2 separate regions of the Homo sapiens genome follow, and region 1 is linked to region 2. Evidence: promoter capture Hi-C in human tissues and cell types (Jung and others, 2019). All regions are on one chromosome and are shown on one strand. The core of a region is centred on a gene start or on the middle of the fragment in contact, and the rest is flanking DNA. Distances in the headings are between cores, read along the strand shown. Region 1 overlaps RNF170 (ring finger protein 170). Region 2 holds the start of DKK4 (dickkopf Wnt signaling pathway inhibitor 4).

What was found. The method cuts DNA at HindIII sites, captures the fragments that hold promoters and counts their contacts. A contact is called where the count stands out against the background at its distance.
Region 1: a contact is called between a fragment that was not itself captured here and the fragment with the promoter of DKK4 in region 2, in 1 of the 25 tissues and cell types used here (heart left ventricle).

What each region holds. Positions count from the first base shown.
Region 1 is chr8:42,860,865-42,864,429 of GRCh38, reverse strand. It overlaps RNF170 (ring finger protein 170), which reads left to right. Exons shown (of 7, transcript NM_030954.4): 6 at 2,575-2,685. Among named protein-coding and RNA genes, the nearest start is that of THAP1, 19 kb to the right of the region's middle. The HindIII fragment of the contact is 3,920 bases long and covers 1-3,447 here.
Region 2 is chr8:42,375,838-42,379,123 of GRCh38, reverse strand. DKK4 (dickkopf Wnt signaling pathway inhibitor 4) reads left to right here and starts at 1,895. Exons shown (of 4, transcript NM_014420.3): 1 at 1,895-2,189. The coding sequence starts at 2,079. The HindIII fragment of the contact is 8,640 bases long and covers 1-3,286 here.

The sequences.
Region 1 (3,565 bases), core at 238-2,737, 490 kb before region 2:
ATTTATTTTTCATTTAAAATAAAAATACAGGGTGGGCGCAGTAGCTCATGCCTGTAATCCCAGCACTTTGGGAGGCCAAGGCAGGAGGATCACTTGAAGCTGGGAGTTCGATACCAGCTTGGGCAACAAAATGAGATTCCATCTCTACAAAAAAATTTAAAAAATGAAATTAGCCAGGTGTGGTGGTGTATACCTGTAGTCCCAGCTACTTGGGAGGCTGAGGTGGGGGGATTGCTTGAGCTCAGGAGGTTGAGGCTGCAATGAGCTATGATCATGGGACTGCACTCCAGCTTGGGCAATAGAACGAGATTACATCACTAAAAAAAAAAGTATTCCTCCACTTACCCATGGGTGGAATGTTCACACACACTAAAAAAAAAAAAAGTATTCCTCCACTTACCCGTGGGTGGAATGTTCACACACACACACACACACACACACACACACACTCTCTCTCTCTCTCTCCTTCAGCCTTTATTGTAGCTGTCTGTTTCCCCTCAACTGCCCTCTTATTTTGGTGCAAAGAGGGAGGTCCAAGTCATTTTCTTACCATTCTTGCTTATACATTCCCAAATTCTGCCTCTTTCATATTTTACTTGTGGCCACATGGTCAGGAGGAAAACTGATGTTTCTATATGCCTCTCTGGCTGATTTGATGCGTGACACAAGGCAGTCAACATTGAAGCTTATGGCCGGGCGTGATGGCTCACGCCTGTAATCCTAGCACTTTGGGAGGCTGAGGCGGGCAGATCACAAGGTCAAGAGATCAAGACCATCTTGGCCAACATGGTGAAACCCAGTCTGTACTAAATATACAAAAATTAGCTGCGCATGGTGGCGCACACCTGTAGTCCCAGCTACTTGGGAGGCTGAGGCAGAAAAATCACTTGAACCTGGGAGGTGGAGGTTGCAGTGAGCCGAGGTGGTGTCACTGCATTCCAGCCTGGAGACAGAGCGAGACTGTCTCAAAAAAAAATTTTTTTTTTAAATTGAAGCTTATTTGCCCGTACTACTTCTTGGCATCTTTTGCTCTCGGTCAGCAACATCCAAACTAGGGAGTAGGTCTTACATTAAAAAAATAGTTCCAGGCCCTCCCTCTTCTTGGTTCTGCCCATGGCTTTTCATAGGACATGTGTACAGTAGCCAGTGGTATCCTGTGTACCATCCATAAATTGACTAGAGGCTCAGAAGGTCGAGATAAAGTTGTCTTAATATAATAGGTCTTGGTTCCCTAAGATAAGAGTAATTCATCCTGGAGGCAAGACAGATGGCAAATGCTTGTTCTACCTCCTGTTTTCAGTAGCCCCTTCAGTAAATGGTCATGGAAATAGCAATACACAGGCTGCCGCCTCTGACTGGAACACATTCACCACTTCTCCCCTTGAATGCGTGCACACCAGCCACAGTCCTACCACCATTTCCAGGTTTGGCTCAGTATCAGGCTTTCTGACCACCCCAGGCAGAAGAGATCCTCGCTCTCACAGCAGCATTCTTGCACCTGCCCCAGGACCATGTAAGGCTGTCGGCCAGGTCTTCCTCCCCTTTCCTTGTGGGTGTTGTAGTCACCCTGGAGCAGGCTTTTGACTTCATTTTTCTGGCATACCTAGCACTAAGCAGAGTGCCTGGCCCGCCATAGGTGTTCCATTAATGTGTATTGAAAGAATGCATTTTTATTAACAAATTTGTGAAGGAAGTGATGGCTGCACCTGCTGTTCTCACCACCTTCTGTGCTTAGTCACGCCTTCTTTTAGCTGTTTGGAAAGCATCTAAACAGTGGGAAGCCTTGGTTTTACAGCTGAACTGAGGAAGGACAAAACAACAACTAAATGATTTAAAACTAAATCGGCCACCACTCCTTCCCGTTTTTATGTCATCATACAATCATTAGTGACCATTTTCTATAAGGGTGCTACGTCCTAAAGTGTATTTATTTTTCAAGGTACTGTCACCGTCAGATTACCCCAGTATGGTCCTGGGACATTTGTACATCCTTGTTACCACAACCATGAAGGAAGCAGGGTTAAATGTATTATGTTATATGACAATATCAAAAATTTCTTTTTTTTATTATAGTAGGAATTGGTGTTTGAGAGCTGGTCCCTGCAATAACATAATCTTTATATTATGGTTGGTAGCATTCAAAGATCTTTCAAATACCAGTAAGAATAACCAATCATTATTTTAATACTGAAAAAGAAAACCATAATTTTTCTGTCTTAAAGTGACAGTTATATATTTTATGTCACTTTCCTCCTGAATGTTTCCTCATCCTTCTTTTATCTTCAAATATCTGTTAGCCCAAATAGAGAACTAAGGAATTTACCCCTGGTGTGGACAGGAAAATATTAGGCCAGTAGTTGGATATGGTGTCTATTTTATAGGAGTTCAAATTCTATGTTGCATTGGATTTTATTGCAAAGCAGTTACTTACTCCCCTCCCCCAGGTTGCCTTTATTTAAAAATGAGTGAAATATAAATATAGAAGCCTTTATCATTCTATTGAATAATAACACAAAATGAAAAAAACATAATGATGCAGAAAGTTGAAATAATTTTTTTTTCTGTAATATACAGGTAACCTTACTCCTAACAGTATTTGGTGAAGATGATCAGTCTCAGGATGTTCTGAGATTGCATCAGGATATTAATGATTATAACCGGAGATTCTCAGGGCAACCCAGATCTGTAAGTAATGCTAAAGCATGTTCAAAGTTAGAGGAAGACACATTTCTTCTCTTTTGTAAAGTGAGGTTTACCAACAAGTATTCTTTGACTATGAGAAATCTTGGCCAGGCACAGTAGCTAACGCCTATAATCCTAGCACTTTGGGAGGCCAAGGCAGGTGGATCACTTGAGCCCAGGAGTTTGAGACCAGCCTTGGAAACATGATGAAACCCCATCTCTAGAAAAAACACCAAAAAATTGGACAAGAGTGTTGGCACATGCCTGTAGTCCCTGCTTCTTGGGAGGCTGAAATGGGAGGATCACCTGAGCCCAGGAGGTTGAGGCTATAGTGAGCCATGATCGCACTATTGCACTCCCACCTGGGTGGCAGTGAGACCCTTCCTCAAAAAACAAGAAAAGAAAAAGAAAAAAAAAAATCTCATTATATGTGTTGGGTCAAGTTTTTACCTTCATTGCTGCCAATCACTACATTACACCTTTCCCAAGGACTACAATTTTCTTTCTTAAAAAACAAACAGCATTATAAAAGTTTTTATGAAAGAGAAACTAGCAGAAAAGCAATAGAAAAAATTAGAGGGAAATAGAAAATTATTTACTTCTTTGTGATACTAAAACACCATTTGTCTTTTGAGAAAAGTTACAACTGAAAACTTTAAGTTTCACAGTTGTGGTTTATTCTATTTGCCCTAGCCCTGTTTGAAATGTTCCCTTAAAAAAATTCCAGGTTGGCTGGGGGCGGTGGCTCACGCCTGTAATCCCAGCACTTTGGGAGGCCGAGGCGGGTGGATCACCTGAGGTCAGCAGTTCGAGACCAGCCTGGCCAACACGGTGAAACCCTGTCTCTACTAAAAATACAAAAATTAGCTGAGTGTGGTGGCAG
Region 2 (3,286 bases), core at 646-3,145:
GACCACCACCACGCCCGACTAGTTTTTATATTTTTAGTAGAGACAGGGTTTCACCATATTGGCCAGGCTGGTCTCGAACTCCTGACCTCAGGTGATCCATCCACCTCAGCCTCCCAAAGTGGTGAGATTACAGGCGTCAGCCACCGCACGCGGCCTACTTTTTTTTTTTTTTTTTTTTTTGTGGAGACAGGATCTCAATATGTTGCCCAGGCTCGTCTTGAACTCCTGAGCTCAGGAGATCTTCCCACCTTGGCCTCCCAAAGTGCTGGGATTACAGGTGTGAGCCACTGTGCCCGGCCATTGGAGTTTCAAATTTTATTCCTAACATGTAATCCGAGGCTCTGTTCCATGCCAAGTGCTCTAAGTGCTCAGTGGCTGTTTGTGCCGTGTTACAGGAGTTCCCGTCAGTTCTTTCGCCTGTGTATATTGCCAGGGGCCTTTGGTAACCTGAAATTCCCTTACAGTGAGGCAGCAGGAAGCAGAGAAACCCGGCAGAGACAGAACCCTGGGGGCTCTTTCCTTTATCCTTGGTCATAATTGTACAACTTGAAAATAAATTCTGTAACACCCCTAGTCACCAGGGTTATCATGCTATCAAAGGGTGTTGTTTGATGTCAGTTTAAGGGATTAAAACAAGTAACTTCCATACGAGAGGTAGACAAGCAATACCAACCCAAGGACAAGGGCCAAGTAGTAGGAAGGCTCGAATCACCTGCATCACCCTCGGAATGGCACTGCATTACTCAAAATTGAGAATGTTCCCATGCACAGAATGCTGAGATTCATGTCAATGAATTGATGTTAGGTTGTTCTGCAGGAAAATGTAGTAAATAATAAGATTATCATTTATGGCATAGAAAAAATGCATTTTAGATGACTCTATGCTAAGAGCAATGAAACAATGAAGAGAAAAAATGATTTTTTGATCCAGATCTAGATTGTTCTACCCTTAAAGTATTTAAGACAGTGATAAGCACATGTCTAAATTACCTGACTAATAGTCCAAATGGAAAAAAATCAGACAGGAAAGGGATGAAGCAGAAGTTTTAAAAAATTCGTATTAGGAAAATTGGAAATACATGAAATTTCATCTGAAATCAGCCAGAGACTTGGATCCTTGTTCTGCTTAAGTGAGTTTTACATAATGCAACACAAATTAAATATGTTGCTGATAAAATGGACCCAAAGCTTCGTACTGAATTGTGTAAAATGCGCTATCATTGTTCCCACCATTGAAAAATGGGATTTTCATAAATTACATTATTTTCCTAATAACCCTAACTTCAAACAGTTCAATTTTCATTTAAAGGAAAGTAATTTCCCAAATGGCATTTAGTCAGAACAGGTGCTGTTACGTTCACAACTTTTAAGCGGTTGGGATTTTGACATCTGGATGCCAGAGCTAATCAGGGGGCGTTTTCTCTTTTTCTATCTGTCCTCACTATCTGAAGCCCAGTTTACAGCTTCTCAGTGTATTTTGTACCTCATTAGTTTTTGGCATCCTCTATAGCATATTGGCCAGTATGATTCATCCTTTCTTTGAGCACAATTAGCTGTGAAAACAGATCTTAGGGCAGACTCCCTCCCTACCCCCAAAGGATTACTGAAGGTAGGAAATGCAGGTGATTATCAGAGTTTGCCTTTGATACAGACATCCTGCTCTGCCGTGGCCCTTTGAACTAACTTTGATATGCAATAATTAAGAGGGATTGAACCCCTGGAGGAGAAGCCGCATGGCCCTGCCTCTTCTCTCCTTCTATTGAGTCCTTGTTTTGAACTATTGATCAAACAGATTTGAAGGGATTTGTTGAAGCCTGTGTGGGGCAGGAGGAAGGAACGGAGCGGGGAGGAGGCACATCTGGTTATAAATAGTTTCAGGAGGAACCTGCTGGTCAGACTTTGCTCAGCCGATTTCACGCACCTTACTCAGACTAAGGTTTACTTCTTTCAGAAAAAGCAGTGACAAACAGACGACGTGCTGAGCTGCCAGCTTAGTGGAAGCTCTGCTCTGGGTGGAGAGCAGCCTCGCTTTGGTGACGCACAGTGCTGGGACCCTCCAGGAGCCCCGGGATTGAAGGATGGTGGCGGCCGTCCTGCTGGGGCTGAGCTGGCTCTGCTCTCCCCTGGGAGCTCTGGTCCTGGACTTCAACAACATCAGGAGCTCTGCTGACCTGCATGGGGCCCGGAAGGTAAGGCTGCTAGGGAGGGGGGCGAGGTACGGGACTGCTGACAGCTGGGGTGTTTTGTTTAGGCTTTAGTAAGTCATTCTGATTCATGTATGAAATGTCTTACCTAGCAGGTAAATTGAATTGGTTTCGGATTTGGGAGGGCATCCTGGTAGGATCAGTGGCCTTAGTGTGAATGTATGAAATAAACACAGTGGCTTTTCACATCATTCGGCCATACGTTTGTCTATAAATCACGAAATAAACGAACACTTTGGAAGCTCTACTATGTGCCAGCTCTTTTACATGTAATACGTCATGTACTCTTCCTCACAATTTGAGATAGGTGAAACATTCCCTAATTCCAGATGAGGAAATAAGACTCAGAGATGTTGAAGAGCTTACCCAAGCTCACACAGCCAGCAAGCAAACATGGGAATGAGAATTTAAACAGAGGGCCATGATGCATTGCCTTGTCACCATCTAACTTCACAGAGAGAGTTGTTTTAGGAATCGCTTTATGTATGTGTATATGTTATTATATATCGTATAGATTATTACATATATCATATATGCTACACCTACGTTGTATGTCTATGTAGAAGCATCAACTGTGTATGAGAACAATTGATCTTCGGTATCTCTTTCTCTATGTCAATGAGGCATCATTGAAAATCAAAGGACAGTTCACTTAGGGAAGGGTCTCTAAGCTAAATGTGATTCACTAGAGTAAAAAATCAAATAGGAATGCCACAAACATCAATAGTATGTTTAATGAAACTGTAGCCAGCTTCTAGAGTTAAGATATATTGAAAATCTCATACTCACCTGTTAAGACACACATAGGAAAACATTTTTTCCCATTTTCACAAAGAGCACAGGAAAACTAAATTCTGAGTTAAGTCAATTTTTCAAACTCAAATAGCCTTTGCAGCGCCTAGGTCTCCCCGGGTGACATGAGCTTCCCTTTGTGGGAGAAAACCATTTCCACTGGAGAGTAAGATGCTGCCCAGGGTTTGTCACAGCGCCACTGTCCTTTGGCTCCCTCCGCCTCCTGCCTTCAATAATAAGTCATCTTCCATCGTGTTGGGGGTTTCCTAGCCTTGTGATAACAGATTCCC